Regions from separate parts of the Homo sapiens genome. Here region 1 is linked to region 2. Evidence: promoter capture Hi-C in human tissues and cell types (Jung and others, 2019). All regions are on one chromosome and are shown on one strand. The core of a region is centred on a gene start or on the middle of the fragment in contact, and the rest is flanking DNA. Distances in the headings are between cores, read along the strand shown.

What was found. The method cuts DNA at HindIII sites, captures the fragments that hold promoters and counts their contacts. A contact is called where the count stands out against the background at its distance.
Region 1: a contact is called between a fragment that was not itself captured here and the fragment with the promoter of TRAFD1 in region 2, in 1 of the 25 tissues and cell types used here (H1 embryonic stem cells).

The regions. Positions count from the first base shown.
Region 1 is chr12:111,584,771-111,589,617 of GRCh38, forward strand. All of the region lies in intron 1 of ATXN2 (ataxin 2), which reads right to left. Among named protein-coding and RNA genes, the nearest start is that of ATXN2, 12 kb to the right of the region's middle. The HindIII fragment of the contact is 3,592 bases long and covers 1,057-4,648 here.
Region 2 is chr12:112,122,905-112,127,705 of GRCh38, forward strand. TRAFD1 (TRAF-type zinc finger domain containing 1) reads left to right here and starts at 2,656. Exons shown (of 12, transcript NM_006700.3): 1 at 2,656-2,714. RefSeq lists enhancers at 2,381-2,675, 2,653-2,702, 3,113-3,182. The HindIII fragment of the contact is 10,449 bases long and covers 1-4,801 here.

The DNA of each region.
Region 1 (4,847 bases), core at 1,603-4,102, 540 kb before region 2:
GCCTGACCAACATGGAGAAACCCCATCTCTACTAAAACTAAATACAAAATTAGCCAGGCATGGTGGAGCATGTCTGTAATCCCAGCTACTCAGGAGGCTGAGGTAGGAGAATCACTTGAACCCGGGAGGCAGATCGGGCCATTGCACTCCAGCCTCGGCAACTAAGAGCGAAACTCCATCTCAAAAACAATTATTTCAATAATGCAATGCATCCTAACACTTCTTATTCTTTTTCATTTTTCTAAAAATGCTTGTCATAATCCACTAATGTGTTTCACAATCTACTAAGGGGTCATGATCTGCAGATTGAAAAATACTTCTTTGGGAGATATAAAAAATCATTTAACCTGGTGTTATGAGTCACCATTATGAGCACATTAACTAACTACACTGTGCTATAAAACAGTAATGCCCTTAGGGCCTAAGATATACAGCTATAAACTTACAGTCAAAACTCCCAGGCCGGGAGTGGTGGCTCACGCCTGTAATCCCGGCACTTTGGGAGGCCTAGGCAGGTGGATCATCTGAGGTCAGGAGTTCAAGACCGGCCTGGCCAATATGGCAAAACCCCATCTCTACTAAAAATACAAAAATTATCCGGGTGTGGTGGCGGGCACCCGTAATCCCAGCTACTCAGGAGTCAGAGGCAGGAAAATCGCTAGAAGCTGGGAGGCAGAGGTTGCAGTGGGCCAAGATTGTACCATTGCACTCCAGCCTGGGCAACAGAACAAGATTCTATGTCAAAAAAAAAAAGCCAGGTGCGGTGGCTCACGCCTGTGGTCCCGGCACTTTGGGAGGCTGAAGCAGGCGGATCACCTGAGGTCAGGAGTTCGAGACCAGCCTGGCCAAAATGGGGAAACCCCGTCTCTACTAAAAATACAAAAATTAACCCGGTGTGTGACCAATATCTGTACTCCCAGCTACTCAGGAGTCAGGCAGGAGAACTGCTTGAACCTGGGAGGCGGAACTACAGTGAGCAGAGATGGCGCCATTGCACTCCAGCCTGGGTGACAAGAGCAAAACTCCATCTCAAAAAAAAAAAAAAAAAAAAAAAAAAAAACCTCCCAGAATGGTATACTTGTTGAGCTCTTGTGTCTGTTTTTTAGTAGTTCCCATTTTAGTAGTTCCCAGGCTCTTTGCTTTGTTTTTTTGAGATAAGGTCTCATTTTAACGCCCAGGCTGGAGTGCAGTGGTGCAATCATGGCTCACCTCGACATCCAGACTTAAGTGAACCACCTGCCTCAGCCTCCCAAGTAGCTGAGACTACAGAAGTGCACGACCATGACTGGCTAAATTTTTTGTATTAATATTTTTTGTTGAGATGGGGTTTCCCTGTGTTGCCCAGGCTGGACTTGAACTCCTGGGCTCAGGTAATCTGCCTGCTTCAGCCTCCCAAAGTGTTGGGATTACAGGTGTGAGCCACCATGCCCAGCCACCAGTCTTCCAAACTTTTTTTTTTTTTTTGAGACAGAGTCTCACTCTGCTCTGTGGCCCAGGCTGGGGCACAGTGGCACAATCTGAGCTCACTGCAACCTTCACCTCCCGGGTTCAAGCGATTCTCCTGCCTCAGCCTCCCAAGTAGCTGGGATTACAGGCGCCCGCCCAGCCCCAAGTCTGGTTTTTTTTTTTTTTTTTTTTTTTTAGACGGAGTCTCCCTCTGTCGTCAGTGCAGTGGCCCGATCTCGGCTCACTGCAACCTCTGCCTCCCGGGTTCAAGCAATTCTCCTGCCTCAGCCTCCCGAGTAGCTGGGACTACAGGCACACATCACCACGCCCATTTAATTTTTTTGTATTTTTAGTAGAGATGGGGTTTCACCCTGTTGGCCAGAATGGTCTCAATCTCTTGACCTTGTAATCCGCCCTCCTCAACCTCCCAAAGTGCTGGGATTACAGGGGTGAGCCACCACGCCCGGCCCTTTTTCTGTTTTTCAGTAGAGACAGGGTTTCACCATGTTGGCCAGACTGGTCTCGAACTCCTGACCTCAAGTGATCCACCCTCCTTGGCCTCCCAAAGTGCTGGGATTACAAGCGTGAGCCACCGCACCCAGCTAAGTCTTTCAACTTTCTATCACGCTACTGTTATTTCTCATTGCTGTTAATATATCTGCCTCTGAAAACATTGCTTTTCTACTTGCTGCCAATATGTACATCAGAAAAGAAAGCTAGATAGAATCATGTGTAAAGTAAAAGTTCTCAAAGAGGCCATAAAGAACTCTCCAGACCAGAGGCTAAAGCAGGAGGACAGTTTAAGCCCAGAAGTTGGAGGCCAGCCTGGGCAACATAACAAGACCCCCATTTCTACCAAAAAAAAAAAAAAAAAAAAGAACTCCCCTTTCTAAAATCTGCTCAAGCTTCAGTGAAAAGACATTTAGTCTTCAATTCCTGATTTCGAAATGTGTTTCAGGAATGAAAATAGTTAACTGCACAAAGTCCACAGCAAATGTTTATAAACCCGAAAAGAAAAATGCAGTACTTGTTTCAAAACCCGCCCTTTATAAAAAACTAAAATTATAATCAAGATTAATTCCACTTAGAAAAATTATTAAGAATATTTTAACATGACTTTAAAAAGCAATATGAAAAACGTCAATGAAAAATATTTGACCTGGCCAGCCACGGTGCCTCACACATGTAATTAAAGCACTTTGGGAAAACTAGGTGGGTGGATCATTTGAATTTAAGAGTTTGAGACCAGCCTGGGCAACATGGCTAAACCCTGTCTCTACAAAATATACAAAAGCCAGGCATGGTGGCATACACCTGTAGTTCCAGCTACTCGGGAGACTGAGGTAGGAGGACTGCTTGAGCCCAGGATGTTGAGGCTGCAGTGAGCCATGACCATACCACTATACTCCAACCTGGCCAACAGGGTAAGACTCAGTCTCAAAAAAAAGGAAATTTAAAAAAAAACTGATCATTGGCAACACTGTTCAATAAAGCCTCTCAAGGCAATGGTTTCAGGAGACCAACATTCTAAAGTTCTGATACAGTTAATAAAAATAAACCACGTTCACTTATATTGCCGACAAGCCTCATACCACAACTAATGAGTTTTACAAAGACTTCATTATAGAATGAAATTTTATTACATTCCCAAAATGTAGTTAGCTATTAATCATGGCACGAAACTGACATTTTCGGGCTGGACACAGTGGCTCACACCTGTAACACCAGCATGTTAGGAGGCCTAAGTGGGGTGGATCACTCGAGGCCATGAGTTCAAGATCAACATGGCAAAACTCCACATCTACTGAAAATACAAAAAAACTAGGCAGGCACTGTGGGGCGCACCAGTAGTTCCAACTACTTGGGAGGCTGAGGTGGGAGGATGGCTTGAACCCGGGAGACAGAGGTTGCAGTGAGCCGTATTTGCAACACTGCACTCCAGCCTTAGCAACAGAGCCAGATCCTATCACAAAAATAAATAAATAAATAAATAAATAAATAAATAAAACAAATTGACATTGTAAAGTCACTTGACACAACTTCAGGGTTAAAATTACAAGCAATCTATGTAAGAATCTTTAAATGTTAATGAGAATTTCAAATTTTCACATGAATGCAAACACAAATAATTACCAGCAAATAAAAAGTTAAGGTTGCCAGGCATGGGAGGCCAAGGCAGGTGGATCACTTGAGGCCAGAAGTTCCAGACCAGCCTGGCCAATATGGTGAAACCCCATCTCTACTAAAATACAAAAATTAGCCAGGCGAGATGGTGCGTGCCTGCAGTCCCAGCTACTCAGGAGGCTGAGGCAGAAAAATCGCTTTAACCTGGGAGGCAGAGGTTGCAATGAGCCGAGATCGCACCACTGCACTCCAGCCTAGGTGACAGAGCGAGACTCCGTCTCGGAAAAAAAAGAAAAAAAAAAAGTTAAGGTTAACAGCTGTGACAAGTTTTCATAAACAACCCAGACTCATAAAAAAAATACCAAACCAGGCCGGACGCGGTGGCTCATGCCTATAATCCCAGCACTTTGGGAAGCCGAGGCGGGCAGATCAAGAGGTCGGGAGATTGAGACAATCCTGGCTAACACAGTGAAACCCCATCTCTACTTAAAATGCATAAAAAAAATTAGCCGGGCATGGTGGCGGGCGCATGTAGTCCCAGCTACTCGGGAGGCTGAGGCAGGAGAATGGCATGAACCTGGGAGGTGGAGCTTGCAGTGAGCTGAGATTGTGTCACCGCACTCTAGCCTGGGCGACAGAGCGAGATTTCTCAAAAAAAAAAAAAAAAAAAAAAAAAAAAAAAAACTAAACCAAACTGGTCACGGTGGCTCACACCTGTAATCCCAGCACTTTGGGAGGACGAGGCGGGTGGATCATCTAAGGTCAGGAGTTCGAGACCAGCCTGGCCAACATGATGAAACCCCATCTCTACTAAAAATACAAAAATTAGCCAGGCATGGTGGCACACAGCTGTTATCCCAGCTACTCAGGAGGCTGAGGCAGGACAATCACTTGAACCTAGGAGGCGGAGGTTGCAGTAAGCCGAGATCACATCACTGCATTCCAGCCTGGGTGACAGGGTAAGATCCTGCAACACACACACACAAACAATAATAATAATTTAAAAAACCAGCCAGGCATAGTGGCTCACACCTGTAATCCCAGCACCTTGGGAGGCCAAGGAGGGCAAATTGTTTGAGGTCAGGAATTCAAGGCCATCCTGGGCAACAGGTAAAATCTCTGTCCCTACAAAATAAAAACAAACAAAAAAGCTAGGCGCAGTGGCTTATGCCTGTAATTCCAGCACTTCAGGAGGCCAAGGTATATGGATCACCTGAGGTCGGGAGTTCGAGACCAGCCTGGCCAACATGATAAAACCCCATCTCTACCAATAATAC
Region 2 (4,801 bases), core at 1,406-3,905:
TTATTTCTGCTGTTGGATTTAGGCCAGTGAAAATAAGGCACCCCAGGGGTTAAGTGAAATTTGAGCTTATCATTATTTCAGTTCATTCCTTGCTACCCTGGACCTTGTTGTCTCCTCCCACTGTGAACTATGAATTTAGAGGAGCTTCTGGGTCACTCAGGCAACGGAAGACAGGACTGCCATTCTCCTGTTTATTTATTCAAAATGTGTTTATACCAAGTGGATGACTATACGGAGCAACTGAAACTCTCCTACACTACTGTTGGGAACGTTTAGTTGTGCAATCACTTCGGAAAACAGTTTGGTAGTTTCTTGTAAAGTTAAAACATAGACTTACCGTATGATCCAGCAATCCCACTTCCAAGTGTTTATCTGAGAGAAATAAAAACATATATCCCCAAAGACTTGCACAAGAATGGTTACTACTGCTTAAACTAGAATCAATTTTTTTTTTTGAGATGGAGTCTTGCTCTGTCACCCAGGCTGGAGTGCAGTGGTGCCATATCAGCTCGCTGAAACCTCTGCCTCCCAGGCTCAAGCAATCTTCTCACCTTAGCCTCCCAAGTAGCTGGGACTACACGCATGAGCCACCACGCCTGGCTACATTTTTGTATTTTTTGTAGAGACAGGGTTTTGTTATGTTGCCCAGGCTGGTCTGGAACTCCTGAGCTCAGGCGATCCACCCACCTTGACCTGCCGAAGTGCTGGGATTGTGGGCGTGAGCCACCATGCCTGGCCAAAAACTAGAACCAGCTCTAATGTTTGTCAGTATAAATTGTGGCATATCCATGTGCTATGCTACTTGGCACTGAAAAGGAATAGACTTGATATTATCAACAGCATGGATAAACCTCAAAAACATTATGCTGAGTTAAAACACCTTATTCATAAAAGAACACACTATATGGTTATCTTTTTTCTTTATATATACTTAATACATTAATATACTTAATTCATATTAATACACATTTTTTCTGATTGCTTTTTAACTGTTAATGATTGTGCTTTCTTTTGAACTCCAGTAAGTTTTGTTATTAAAATGTAACATACAATGTAAAGTGCTTAAGATATAGGTGTGTAGCTTAATAACTATTTACTAATTAATCCATCTGTGTTAATCACTTTGCTGATCAAGATATAAACATTTCTAGAAAATCTTTCTCATATCTCCTTACAGGCTATATACCCTCTGAATGGAACCAGTTACTTACTTCTCTCACTTTAGGTTAATTTTCCCTGGTTTTAAACTTTATATGTTTGGAATCACACAAGTTATATTGCATATTTAAGCTAAATATTTTATCTTGTTATAAATATTGCTTTGAGACGGAGTTTTGATTTTGTTGCCCAGGCTGGAGTGCAGTGGCTCAATCTCGGCTCACTGCAACCTTCACCTCCTGGGTTCAAGCGATTCTCCTGTCTCAGCCTCCCAAGTAGCTGGGATCATAGGCGCCTGCCACCACGGCCAGCTAATTTTTGTATTTTTAGTAGAAACGGTGTTTCACCATGTTGGCCAGGCTGGTCTTGAACTCCTGACCTCAGGTGATCCACCAGCCTCTGCCTCCCAAAGTGTTGGCATTACAGGCGTGAGCCACCGCGCCCAGCCTGTTAGATGCTTTTCTTGCTTAGTACTATCTCATTAACATTTTGCAATTATATTATATTATATTATATTATATTATATTATATTATATTATATTATTTTTGAGACGGGGTCTTTCTCTGTCCCCCAGGCTGGAGTGCGGTAGCATGATCAGGGCTCACTCCAGCCCTGCCTCCTGGGCTCGAGGGATCCTTCCACCTCAGCCTCCCAAGGAGGTGGAACTACAGGTGCGTGCCACCACGCCTGGCTAATTTTTGTATTTTTTTTGTAGAGATATGGTTTCATTATATTGCCCAGGCTGGTCTCTAATTCCTGAGCTCAAGAGATCCACCCGCCTTGGCCTCCATATTTTGCAATTATAATCTGCAATGGAATCATAATTTTAAATTGCTGTATTGTTTGTAATATGTGCTTGGTTATACTTATATAATTATAAGTTGGTTTGTAATATGTGCTTGGTTATACTTATATAATTATTCTCTCCTTTATTATACATGAGGTAAGAGAAGCTCAGGGAATCCATTCAGGCAGCAAGTGGAGAAACTAGCTCTCAAACCTGCATCTCAGGCTCTCATTCTTCCACTGCAAAAAAGCAAAGTGCTCAAAAAATATGGTCACAGATCTGCAGAAGTCTTGCACAAGGGCATTATCATAGCAATAAGAATGACTAATAAGTATTAACGGCCCATGAGAAAAGAACAAATACCATTAATTATCTCAATATATTAAGCATATTAGTAATGTTTGTACAGAATTATTCATGCAAATATTATTAGCCTGTGTCGGGGACAGTTGCTAAACTCAGCAACAGGCTCACAGCTCAGCTTCGTGCCTCTGGTTCCAGATGTGCAGGGGCCAGGGCTTCCAGGGACACGCCCCCGTGGGCCTCCAGGGAGCCAATCGACGCGCAGAAGGCGGGGCCCTGGGAGCGACAACGGTGTTATCCAATGGGCCGACAGCTGGAGCCGCCCCTGGCCAATGGGCGCGCTCCTCCGCGATGGGCGGAAGTGGTGAGGCAGCTCTGAGGGCCGTTGTTCAGTGCGGGGTCTGACAGAGGAGGCTCCGTGTCTGCAGCTAGTGTGTCAACTCAGCGTTTCTCCTCTCGTCCCTGGTGAGGTGTAGCGGCGGCACGCGGCTGGAGATCCCCTGTGGCCTCCAGTTTAGGAAGGGTCCAGCATCCCAAGGGAGGGGTGTGTGGGCGAGGGGTCTCTGGGCCCGGGGTCGCGGCTGTGAGGAGAGGATGCCCGCGCGGCGGCATCTCAGGCACCTGGAGGAGGCCGCGCTTTCTCCTCAGGGAACCGGCGCCTTGGCAGCCCCCGGCGACGCCGCCCCCTTCGCGGCCTAGGTTGGTCTGGTGAGCCGGGAAGCGGGCGTCGTTCGCAGCGCCGCTGTGACCACCGCGTCCCGGGCGGAGCTGGGCTCAGTGCCGGCCTGGGCCTAGAGTCCGAGCCTCGAGCTGCCGGCGTGGGGGGTCGCGAGTGGCCTAATGCGGCCTCGAAGCCGAAGGACCCGAGTCCGAGCTCGCACTCCGACCCGCTGGTGCTGTGGAAAACTCAGGTGGCCTTCCGCTTTCGTAGCCTCTAAAGTGGGGACCAAGACTTTCACCTCTTAGGATTGTAGTCGGGATTAAAAGATTTTCCCGGTAAGCGTTTGGCAACTGCTATTATTTGAGAAGCCGCTTACTTCTTCACTCCCCATCACCGACCTTCCTGGGGACGGGGGCGATTGGAAACTGCCTTGGGGTATCTGGACCCGGCAGGGGAAGCTCCGCCGCCTCGGGCAGAGGGACGGTCCCCTCTGCGGACTAGAGAGATCTAGCTGACCCCCAACAGGCTCCTTATAAGCTTGAAGACTTTTCTGTGCCTCAACTCTTCCGTGCATTCGCCCGTTTCCTTGACCCTTTGAAGTATTGTCAGTCCTCTGCCTGAAGAATCTGAGGCCCAGAGAGGTTAAATCTGGCAGAACCAGCCAGACCTTGACCCCCAGAGGGGGACCCTGCAGGCTACCCCCAGTCTCCTTGCATCTAGAAAAGCAAGCACCTGCTACATCTGAGCTCTGGCCTTAGAGTTGGCCAGAGTGGGCTGGAATAGAGCACACCTGAAATCAGTCGGACAGCCTTCCTTAGTTGCCATTTCATATCAGAGTGAATATCTTTTTTTTTTTTTGAGATGGAGTCACCTTCTGTTGTTCAGGTTGGAGTGCAGTGGCGAGATCTCAGCTCACTGCAGCCTCCGCCTCCTGGGTTTAAGTGATTCTCTTGCCTCAGCCTCCTGAGTAGCTGGGATACAAGCGCCCGTCACCACGCCCAACTAATTTTTGTATTTTTAGTAGAGACTTGGTTTTGCCATGTTGGCCAGGCTGGTCTCGAACCCCAGACCTCCAGTGATCTGCCCACCTCGCCCTCCCAAAGTGCTGGGATTACAGGCGTGAGCTGCTGCGCCCAGCCCAGAATGGGTGTCTTGAATTATGTCATTCCCTAGTTTAAAGCCCTTCAGTGGTTTACCATTGAGCTTGGAATCGAATCCAATATTCTTTCTGTCTGATATGACAAGACCTTCTTGAGTCATTCCCCTTTTTTATTATGCTCTTCCAGATCTGCCTTTACTTTCTCTTTCATTGCTTTTAGGCCTTTTGCCCTTCCCACTGCCTGGATGGATTTCCCCGCATTCCCATCCTCTATCTTTGTCTTTTCGTGGTTGGCTCTTGTACTTCAGTTCTTAATTTAAATGTCGTCTCCCCAGAAAGTTCTTCCCTGACCACTCTTATCTACCTAAAGTAGATTTGCCTCTATTCCGCCCCCATTTATTTGTCAGTATACTTTTCCATCACAATACTCAAGTTATATGTATTTTTTTGCTTATTGTTTTTCTCTACCACTAAATCGCTTTATCAGAGACTATATTTCCTTATTTTGTAAAGTATTTTTAGTGCCAGGGCACAGTGGCACACAGTATGGTCTTCTTTTTCTTTGAGACAGGGTCTCACTCTGTCACCCCGGCTGGAGTGCAGTGGTGTGATCACAACTCACTCACTGTAGCCTCGACCTCCTGGGCTCAAGCCTCCCAAGTAGCTGGGACTACCTCAGCCTCCCACCCCAGCCTCCCAAGTAGCTGAGATTACAGGCATGTGCCACCATACCCACCTAATTTTTTGCTTTTTTGTTTTTTGTTTTTTTTGAGAGGGAGTCTCGCTCTGTCG